Regions from separate parts of the Homo sapiens genome. Here region 1 is linked to region 2. The links are contacts of gene promoters, found by promoter capture Hi-C in blood cells and fetal thymus (Javierre and others, 2016). All regions are on one chromosome and are shown on one strand. The core of a region is centred on a gene start or on the middle of the fragment in contact, and the rest is flanking DNA. Distances in the headings are between cores, read along the strand shown. Region 1 holds the start of SLC2A13 (solute carrier family 2 member 13). Region 2 holds the start of CPNE8 (copine 8).

Region 1 (5,193 bases), core at 2,479-4,978, 1.2 Mb before region 2:
CAAAATAGCACATCACATTTCTTATGGGAAAACCTCCTATAGTCTAAGCCCATGTAATTTACCTTCACTCACAGCTCATGATGTGGGTGTTGATTGGCCCCAGCCTGATCACCAAACTGTAATCTCCCAGCTGCAGTAACTGGGGCAGGAATGGTACCACAACTGACAAATCCAATTACATACAATATAAGTTTGCTAGGGCTTTGGAGAAAGAGGCTCTTTTTCTGTCCTTTCAGACATGAGTGGAAAAGGATATTATATTAGGCTGTTCTTGCTATAAAGAAATATCTGAGACTGGATATTTTATAAGAAAAGAGGTTTAATTGGCTCACAGTTCTGCAGGCTGTACAGAAAGCACAGCACTGGCATCTGTTTCTGGAAAGATCTCAGGAAGCTTACAATCATGGCGGAAGGCAAAGGGGGAGCAGGCACATCACACGGTGAAAGCAAAGGACCAGATCTCCTGTGAACTCAAAAGGAGCTCATTTATCGCCAAGGAGATGACCCAAGCCATTCATTTGGGATCCACCCCCAGGATCTAAACTAGTCTTGTCAGGCCTCAACTTCAACACGGGGGATTACATCTCAACATGCGATTTTGATGGGGACAAATATCCAAACTATCTCAGGTATAGGGCTTGGAGTTTGCTACAGCCCTTTGAGCACCACATAAAATTTAAGAATGGAGCCTAAGGAGTAGGAAGCAGAGTGGAGAAATGGACGTCTGTGTGACATCCTGGTGTTTTTAGTCCTTTATCCAACTGCACTTGACGCCAACTTATTAGAGAGTTTTCAGAGACAATAGACAATAAGTACTCCCTCTTTCCCATTATTTTGGCTTAAACCAGTTTGATCTCGATTCTCTATCTCTTGCATCCAAAACAATTCAAAAACAAACAAATAAAACAACAATATATATATATGTATTTTACCATGTACATACATATGCATATAAATTCATAGAGAAAGTTCTGGAAAGATATATTTCAAAGTGGTAGAGGTGGTTATCTCTGGCCAAAGGGGTCTGTTATGGTGGGAAAGACGATTGAGAAGGGGCTTTTCGCCTTTCTTTATTGTTAGACTGCTTTGGAACATGTTACTGGAGGTTGTAAAGCAAATATCCTCAAAGCTGGAACTATAGAACTCACTGCAAACCAATAATGACTCTTGTAATTAAATTTGCCCTGCAATAGCAATTAATTATATTTCAAAAATACCCTTTAACACTCTCGTCAATGAGTAGTTGCTGCACCATTATCTGCTCTTCAAATGAGAGAAAAAAAAAAAAAGCAAAGCACAAGCTAATCTTGTGGTTTGTGGAAAGTTTTACGGTAAAACAATGGTGGTGTTGACATTCATCTCTTTTGATTCTCAGCCCATGGGTTTTCCAGTTCATCATAAACCGCAGCTGGGGCCGACTTTGGGGAACTCCATATTAGACTCACGCGCTGATGCTAAGTTGAACTGGACTCCCTCTCAAGGCTGAGACGAATTCTGTTTAACTCTCCGAAGCTTTTTTTTTTTTTTTGAGATGGAATCTCGCTCTGTCGCCCAGGCTGGATTGCAGTGGCACGATCTCGGCTCACTGCAACCTCCGCCTCCTGGGTTCAAGCAATACTCTGCCTCAGCCTCCCGAGTTGCTGGGATTACAGACGCGTGCCGCCATGCCCGGCTAACTTTTGTATTTTTAGTAGAGACAGGGTTTCACCACGTTGGCCAGGCTGGTCTTGAACTCCTGACCCCGTAATCCACCCGCCTCAGCCTCCCAAAGTGCTGTGATTACAGGCGTGAGCCACCGCGCCCGGCCTCCGATGCCTTTTTTTTCACGTCACATTTCTTTTAAAATGTAACCTGACCGCAGATACATAACTGTCCTAATACGGAACAGAATTTTTAAAGTAGTTTCTTGTTCTATGACCCCAAAGCTGAATTTCAAGCAAGGAATGCTCAGGAACCAAGATGTTCACTGCACCAGCTGAGACAAAAAGTAGTTTATTTTCATCTCAGCAAGAGGGAACTGTCAAAGAACCAGATGCTTCTCATCTGCGGAGCCCTTCTCTTCAGAAGCCGTGGGAATTGGCTCACCACCAGGGGGCGCAGTTTTACTATACCGTAGCATGCCGCGGAAAAGGCGCGCTCTCACCTGCAATATTGTCCGAGGTCTGAATATTAAAGAGTTCATTGCTGCAGATCTAAAGGCTCTCTCTGTTTAACTGATGCCTGGGAATGACGGTAGAGCCTTGCTTTAAAGCCAGACGATAACATTTAAATAGTTAAGCCGTCTGGCTTCATTAGTTTATTTTTCCTTGTTGCTGGCAAGGAAAGTACTATATTGTAGAGATAATCGTGACTGATAATCAAAACGAAAGCAGTTTTGACAAATTCTAATATAAGTTTTTACTGAAACAGGAATGACAAAATCCTTTTGTCTGAAAGGAAAAAAGTTATAGCTGCATGAAAAATAGGCCCCAGGCTAAGAAAGCTTTTGCTCAAATAAGGGAAATAAAAGAGCAGTGGAATTGTAGGAATAGAATCATATGATGCTTGACTTTTTGCCCTCAGCCTGAAGAATGAAAGCAAATTAGAGGCACAAAACATCTTTAGCAGTCCCAGCTGCTAGGAAGGCTGAGGCAGGAGAATCGCTTGAACCTGGGAGGCGGAGGCTGCAGTGTGCCGAGATAGCGCCACTGCACTCCAGCCTGGGCGACAGAGCGAGAATCTGTCTCAAAAACAAAACAAAACAAAACAAACTATCTTTAGCCCCTGATGCGCAACTGTATATTTTAAAAACATTTAAATTAAAGGGGGAAACAAACCCCAAATGAACCAACAACTGTTAATTCACTCAACAGTTTAAAAAATTGGTTGCAAATAACGTTATCTTTGCTTTGTTTCAAGTAAATGAGGCTGTTAAAACAGTGCCTCATGGAGGGCAACAGTGGGGATTCTCAGGAGAGAAGCTATCCTACCTTTTGGTTAGCATGTTGGGGCGGGGAAATGGAGACTGCCTGCCGAATCACAAATCAGGGTCTTGAGTTTTCTTTCTATTTCTGGGAATTACCCGTTACATGAGTGGAATGCATATATGTGAATTTTCTTTTACAGGTCGGGGATCCATGGAAGGAGGGTTTGGGATTCACCACAGAGATATGTTCTCTGTCCTCAAAGAATCAAATGTACCATTCCTTTAAAATAAGCATAAATTGAGGAGGGACTGGCGATGAGAGTGGAAACTAGCTATAGAAATGGGAGCATGCAGCCCTGAATTGCTCCAGAACAAACACATTTAATGCCAGGGAAGTAGACCACGCTGGGTAATGTCACAATACTATAAAAGGAAGGGTACTTGCTAGGTCCTATTCTAGGATATTTTTTCCAGCCCTCTCTCTAGGCTGCTGGAAGGACAGTGAGGCTGGTTTAGGTGCTCTCTCCCTCCTCTCCAAACACGGCAAACATTCTGGGTGGCTTCCCGTCTGGAAGCCTGTTGCCTGATGGCATCGCCACATTGGCTTGCTCCACCGCTGCAGCTCGGAAGGCAGGGTTAATTCCATACGGTTGCCAGAGCCCTAAATGAGGGAGCCTAGGTCAGAGGTCGCACCCACCGGGAGGGCGGGGTTTAGGGGTCCGGGGCGGGCTGAGCCTGGCCCCGCCCAAGGAGGGGGCGGGACGTTTCCCGGGCCCCGCCCCGCCGGCCCGGGGTTGCACGTGACCCGCGGTCCCGCCTCCCGCCCGCTCCGCAGCGCCAGCTCGGCAGGCGCGGGGCGTGAGTGTGGAGTGAGACCCGCCGGGCTCCAACTCCGCAGCGTCGGAGCGCGGCGGGCAGCAACTTTCTCCCCGGAGCGGCCGTGGCGGCGGCTGCTGCCGTGGCAGCCGGAGCGGAAGCCGGGAGGAAGAAAGCGGCGGCAGCGGCGGTTGCTCCCGCCGGCTCGGGCTGTCTAGCTCGCCGAGACTGCCGGCCCGCGGAGCCGCGTCCCCCCGGGCAGCCCCGGGCCCCTGCCCTATGTCCCGCAAGGCAAGCGAGAATGTGGAGTACACGCTGCGGAGCCTGAGCAGCCTGATGGGCGAGCGGCGCAGGAAGCAGCCGGAGCCGGACGCGGCGAGCGCGGCCGGGGAGTGCAGCCTCCTGGCTGCCGCCGAATCGAGCACCAGCCTGCAGAGCGCGGGCGCGGGCGGCGGCGGCGTCGGGGACCTGGAGCGCGCGGCGCGGCGGCAGTTCCAGCAGGACGAGACCCCCGCCTTCGTGTACGTGGTGGCCGTCTTCTCCGCGCTGGGCGGCTTCCTGTTTGGCTATGACACCGGGGTGGTGTCAGGGGCCATGCTGCTGCTCAAGCGGCAGCTCAGTCTGGACGCGCTGTGGCAGGAGCTGCTGGTGTCCAGCACGGTGGGGGCGGCTGCCGTCTCGGCGCTGGCCGGAGGCGCCCTCAACGGCGTCTTCGGCCGCCGCGCTGCCATCCTCCTGGCCAGTGCCCTCTTCACCGCCGGCTCCGCGGTGCTGGCTGCGGCCAACAACAAGGAGACACTGCTCGCCGGCCGCCTGGTCGTGGGACTCGGCATCGGTGAGTTCGGGCTCCGTGAAGGGCGCCCGGGATCCCATTGTCACCGCCCTTGACCCTGGGTGTTGCGTGCCTCTTGCCCATCGGGGTCCCCGTCTGGTCTCCCAGGGTCAGAGAATCCTCCACTTCTCTGGCCTCCAGAGCCCATCTGTTTGTTGGTCCAGCCTCCAAGGCTCTCCCGGGAGGTGGGAGGGTCGGGGGGGAGGGGGTGTCACTCTAGTCTCCCTCGAGCGCACGTGGAATCTTTGATAGGCCACGGACCAGTCAGTCCAAGTGGTTGTTGCCTCTCAGCACTTCCAGAAACCTAGCTGAGCACCAGCTCTTTCCTTGATCCAGCCTAACCTGATGCTGCTTCTTGAGCTTACGAGGGTCTCTGCTTTCCTGCACTGTCCCACCTTGCCTCTCCACTGCTAGCCCCTTTCGTTTTCTGGGGCTCCCAGCCTGGAACCTAGACCATCGTCAAGTTACAGTGAGATAATATTTAGAGTTAAGTAATTCTGGACTCTGAAAGGTTTATTAGCGACCCCTGCCCTCTTTGCTTATCTAGCATTTGTCTTTAGATGGCATCTCCTTTTGCTTTTATGCTTTTTCTATTGCCTTTCAGCTTTCATTCTTTTCCCAAGTAAATTCCATTCTCCTC
Region 2 (5,451 bases), core at 245-2,744:
TGGGGAAATCAGGAAAGGAAAGCAAGAAGAAACAGGGGAAGTACACTCGGCAGGGGAATCGGCAAGACTGCACCTACACACTCTCACCCGCCTCTATAGATTCTCTAGGCAGGAGGCTGCAAGTGGATTAAAATGTTACAACGCAAGGCAAGTCCTCCACCGCAAAAACTGCTCCTCCCAGACTTAGCCCAACCAGCTGGAAACTCCGTGCTTGGAGCGTTAAATCGGACGGACACCCGCCCCCTCTCCACCCTCTGCCTTCCAGCTGCGCCGCATCCTGTTCTCCGTCGCCGCCTGGTGGCGAGCTCCCGGGACCCGCAGGCGCTCGGGTGAGGCAGGAGGGAAGGCGCGGGGAACAAAGGTCCCTGCAGTGGAGGGGCGCCTCGTCTACCTCCGGATGCTTTTGCCACGACTCCGTCTTGGCACCAGTCTTGCTGCCCTGGAATGCAGTTTCCCAAACGCAGCGCTCACTCTGACTCCTCTCTGCTTTTATCCGTCAGGTCTCAGTTCTTGCGGGTGGGAGTCGGCTGAAGGAGCTGCGTTATATGGTTGTGACATCACCCTCCCCGGCCCCCATTTTCAGGTCAGAACTTTCATGCCTTTGGAAACGAGGGACCCAGAAGAGCCCTTACTGTAGGAGGAATGTCGCCGTTAGACCTCTAAGCTCCGAAGAACCAAGGGGAGACAGAATCCAGATTGCTTCCTTAAATCCCAAGTAGTATTGTTTTTTCCACCTTAGAGTCCGCCCCCCCGCCCCCACTTGTCCCATATATTGATCGGCCACTTTGCCACCGTGTTCCAAGGTTGGAGAGCGTCACAATGCCCCACCGTCCCCAACTCTCAAGTGGCCGACAGTGGGCAGTCCAGAAGCTGGGACCAGACTCATCTGCCCGAGGGCACAGTAGGAGGGACGGAGGGATCTCCCAAGAGCTCCGAGGGCGAGGTGAGAACCAATTGTGGGGAGGGGGACCTTATAACGGGGCAGTTAGGAACGGGCAGAGGTGCCCCCACCTCCAGCTTTCAACTCAGGCGAGGAAACTTCGAGACCTTCCCGTCCACACCTGATTGACAGAAGGAAGCTGTCGCGGCCCAGGAGGCGAGTGTGGGTGTGCAGAGGTGGAGACAAAACCTAAAAGCACGCAGAGCCGGCGAGGGCTTGCGGTCCTGGACGGTAGGGGTCTGCGTCTGGTGCCACCTTCTCCATCAGGCTGCTTGCTGGGTCCACCAAGCCTGACCCCTCCAGCCAGGAGGGGATCACGGAGTGTGTCCCCCGCCCGGGCTGCTGCCTGCCGGAAGGGGGCTGGGAAACCGGGATCCCCGCGCGCCACTTGCCTGGCAGCGTCAGTTTCACCCAGGACTGGCTAGCGGTTCCCTCGTGGCTCTGCGCGGAGGTCCGCCTCCTCCCTTCCCTCCCCCATCCCGCGCGCTGCCTCCGCCTCCTTCTTCTGCCTCCACCCTCAACCCCCATCCCCGCCTGACGGGAGCTAGCCCTCAGTCCGCCCGAGCTGTGGTTGTGGGCGCCGGACAAGTCCAAGGCGCCTCCTCCCAATATGGACAGCCGCTACAACAGCACTGCGGGCATCGGGGACTTGAACCAGCTGAGCGCTGCCATCCCGGCCACGCGGGTGGAGGTGTCCGTGTCCTGCAGGTGAGGACGCAGCCCTTCCCCTCTCTCCTGCCCTCTCATCTGTGGGGTTGGTAGCACTTGGAGAGCGCTCGGGGTACCACGAGGCTTTGCGCAGGCAAGAAGTTGCGCCATGAGTGGGAAATATCTCAGTAGTGGGGCTGGAGTTACCCCGGGTCAGGTGACACAGGGGAGCGGGAATTAGAAGCGGTGGGCTCCGGGACTGAGACTTTGTATTTTCTTTCTGGGAAACGCTGTAAAAGTTGGCTGGGCTGTGACTCAGCTGTGGGAACACCGGCCGCCGCCCACTTTACAAGCCGGTTTTCCGCCCCAAACCCGGGCTGGATGGTTGGGTGATGACCGGAATCGAAGGGGACAGCACTGCCAAAAGCTCTTGTGACCGCTGCACGCTTAGGCCCGGGACTTCCTCTGCTAGGCGTGTGCAAACCTGCTGTTGCTAGGGTTGGCTCCAACCCCGGCAGCTTCCTCCCCACCCACTTCCTGGAGCCTTCCAGCTTGCTTCTCCCCGACCCTTCCGGGCTTTTTGCCTTTTGCCTGATAGGTAGAGATTTCGGCCCTCCTTGCAGACGAATCTATGCCTTACCTAAGATCTGGGAAGTCACGACTTTTGTTTTGATTTGTTTTCGGGCCCACATCTGAGTGCTTGTAAAAACTGACTCTCGGCCGGGCGCAGTGGCTCAGTACAGTTTATACGCCTGTATTCCCAGCACTTTGGGAGGCCAAGGCGGGTGGATCACGAGGTCAGGAGTTCGAGACCAGCCTGGCCAATATGGTGAAACTCCGTCTCTACTAAAAATGCAAAAATTAGCCGGACGTGGTGGCACGCGCCTGTAGTCCCAGCTACTCGGGAGACTGAGACAGGAGAATCGCTTGAACCCGGGATGTGGATGTTGCAATGAGCTGAGATCTTGCCATTGCACTCCAGCCTGGGCGACAGCGCAAGACTCCATCTCAAAAAAAAAAAAAAAACAAAAAAAAACTGACTTTCAACCCTGTCCAGAGACTGTAAATTGCAAACTCGTTGTCCTGACCTTTCGGTTAGTTGCCCTGTAAATAAAGCAGCATCACCGCTATATCATAGATGATTTTGAGAAGGAGATGAGCGATGGTGCTAAATTGGTACTGGCCACTAATTTGCGAATTAATATTGACCCTGGAGCCCACTCCCTTGTTTGCATAATTGGGTCTGTCTCACTGGAAAACTGGCTCCTCATTTATCCATTTTTGCCCTAAGATTGTTTTTATGCCCTCACATCCTCCCTTTCCTTTCCTTAGCAAACTTGCCTTGAAGATATCTAACAAATTTGGGTGATCTTGATGTAAATAAGTTTAAAATTCCATCAATCTTGACTTTGCATTTTCACAAACTGAGCCTAAAGCCAAAGGAATTCTTTTCTGGGGGTGAAAATTCGAGCACCAGCAACCGTAGTAGAAGTATTATTTGAGGGTAGGGGACAGCCTTTATCTAGCCCTGAAACTATATCACCTGATTGTTTGCCGCCTCTTAAGACTGATCTGGGACTATGGAAATAATCATGCTGATAATGATAGCTATCATTAAGCTCTTGCCTCATTGCTGTCACTGCTTTAAGTGCTGCCTGAGATTTTTCTGTCAATGGAACAGGTGAAGCTGTTTGGAAAACTCTTTAGAGGATTCCTAGGCCTTTTTCTTTTCTCTGAAGCTTGCTTTCGATGTTAGAGGGAAGTTACTGGTATATACAGATAATGGATAGCCGGAAGTCCTACAATAACAGCATTACTAGAGTTCTTATCCTCTGCTCAACAGTCTGCAAAGTCTGAATGGCATGTGGCCTATACTTGGAATGAATATAAAAGAATATTGTCAATCAAGTCTGAATTTTTCCATGAGCTTTTTAAGGGAAATTATACCTAAACTGGTCATTCTGCCAGTAGGGCCCATGTTTAATGCAGCCCCTTTTTTGATGCATGTTTTCTGTGAGTGTGCTGGGCATACTGAAGTCAATTGGCTTAAGGCAATTTGTTTCAGTTTGCTGCCTCAGAACCTGCAAATCCCTTGTTCCAGCTTTTTTTCATAACATTGCTTTGACATTTTGTTTTTAATTTTTAAGATTTCTAACAGGAAAAAAAAATCCTGAAAGAGAACCTGAATACTTAGTGTCAAGCATCTCTGCCAGGGGCACTAGTGCTTAGTCTATTGTTTGAGTTGCTTCTGACTCAGCTTACTATTTACGATAAGTTTGAGGTAAAAAGCATCTTTTGGGCAAAGAGAAACATAATTAAATACCCAAGTTAGTGCCTTTGGAATAGGTTTGGGAATAGTTCCTGAAAAGGTGGGTTAAATTTATTTTTAATACATTAAAATTCAAAGATAAAAATATTTGAGTATTGTTGGATCTTGTAACCATAGGAGGTGGTTTAGTTTGGGCTTTGGCATCAGAGACCTAAGTACAAATTCTGGCTTTGTGACTTGTTCTTGCTACCTTGGAGTAAGTTCTTATTCAGTCTGTCTAAGCATTCTCATCTCCAAAAATAAGAATAGTTATGGTATTTACCTTATATAGAGTGTTATCAAGGTGATGTGTGAAAGCGCTTACACAATGCATGAAACAAAAACATGTTTTCAAAAATGTTAGCTATTATTATAATACTGGAAATAACATTTGTTGAATAAATGTGTTATATATGATTCAGGTATGGAATTCTGTAAAAGTCCTTCTCTTTTGAACTTCAATAAGTTGGTTAAAGAACACAAGGATAGAACCAGCATTGGGATACCTGTTCCCGCTTTCTCTATCTTCTTTGATGTGCATCAAGAACATGTTTTGTAGAAAGGTTGTGGGGATTTCACTTAGCAACAAAGCACAGTTGAAGGCCTCTGAGCCTTGCTATGGGCAGGCAGAGTAAGGAATTCCCTTGCCTTACTATACCAGAGACTTCTGAGGATTTGCCCACACTTCAAAAGCAGCTCAGATTTGAATAGGTTCTTTCTTTCTCATTCTTTATCTTTCTTTCTCTCTCTCCTTTCTTTCTTTCTTTCTTTTTCTTTCTTTCTTTCTTTCTTTCTCTTTCTTTCTTTTCTTTCTTTCTTTCTTTCTTTCTTTCTTTCTTTCTTTCTTTCTTTCTTTCTTTCTTTCTTTCTTTCCTTCCTTCCTTCCTTCCTTTCCTTCCTTCCTTCTTTCTTTTCTTTTTCTTTCTTTCTTTTTTCTTTCTTTCTTTCTTTCTTTCCTTCTTTCTCTTTCTCTTTCTTTCTTTCTTTTCTCTTTCTCTTTTCTTTTTTCTCTTTCCTTTCCTTTTCTTTTCTTCATTTCCTTTCTTTCACCTCCTTTCACTGTCCCCTATCATTAAAAGCTTTATGACAAAGTTTTTATCTTCATTTTGGGGAAGGTGAAAAAGATAAACGATTGAAGCTTGAATATAATTCATGGAAATAATTTAGTCTGTTTATTCATCAAGTGTCTGAGTGCCTTTTATATGTCTATGTTTATGCTAGGGTCCATGAGAAATGCAAAAGAAGTTCTCTGAAAATGTAAAATCTGATTGAGAGATAAACACTACATAAGACACGGTAACGGGGCTAAATTCAAAGATGAGGCTCATGCATGAGGAGGGAAAGGATCATTGTGGAATAGGGTGCTTGGAGTATATTACAAAGGGGAGAGATGGGGCTTGGGCAGAGACAAGCTGGATAGGCATGGTTTGGATTAGAGAAGGGACAGTGGTTAAATTTATAGCCACTTAAATTTGTGTTAAGGGGGTGAGAGGTACCCTTTTCTAGATGTATTTATGCAAAGGCAAGCTCCTGCTATTTGACCTCCTTCGTCTTC

The links. The method cuts DNA at HindIII sites, captures the fragments that hold promoters and counts their contacts. A CHiCAGO score of 5 or more calls a contact.
Region 1: a contact is called between the fragment with the promoter of SLC2A13 here and the fragment with the promoter of CPNE8 in region 2, in 1 of 17 cell types (total CD8 T cells). The highest score is 5.7, in total CD8 T cells.

The regions. Positions count from the first base shown.
Region 1 is chr12:40,104,616-40,109,808 of GRCh38, reverse strand. It overlaps SLC2A13 (solute carrier family 2 member 13), which reads left to right and starts at 3,728. Exons shown (of 10, transcript NM_052885.4): 1 at 3,728-4,556. The coding sequence starts at 4,001. RefSeq lists silencers at 2,064-2,193, 3,575-3,824, 3,845-4,104, 4,125-4,194, 4,205-4,294 and an enhancer at 2,405-2,574. The HindIII fragment of the contact is 3,714 bases long and covers 2,485-5,193 here.
Region 2 is chr12:38,901,634-38,907,084 of GRCh38, reverse strand. CPNE8 (copine 8) reads left to right here and starts at 1,494. Exons shown (of 20, transcript NM_153634.3): 1 at 1,494-1,648. The coding sequence starts at 1,551. CPNE8-AS1 (CPNE8 antisense RNA 1) reads right to left here and starts at 1,373. Exons shown (of 2, transcript XR_007063275.1): 1 at 88-1,373. RefSeq lists an enhancer at 1-209 and a silencer at 1,340-1,509. The HindIII fragment of the contact is 5,959 bases long and covers 1-3,329 here.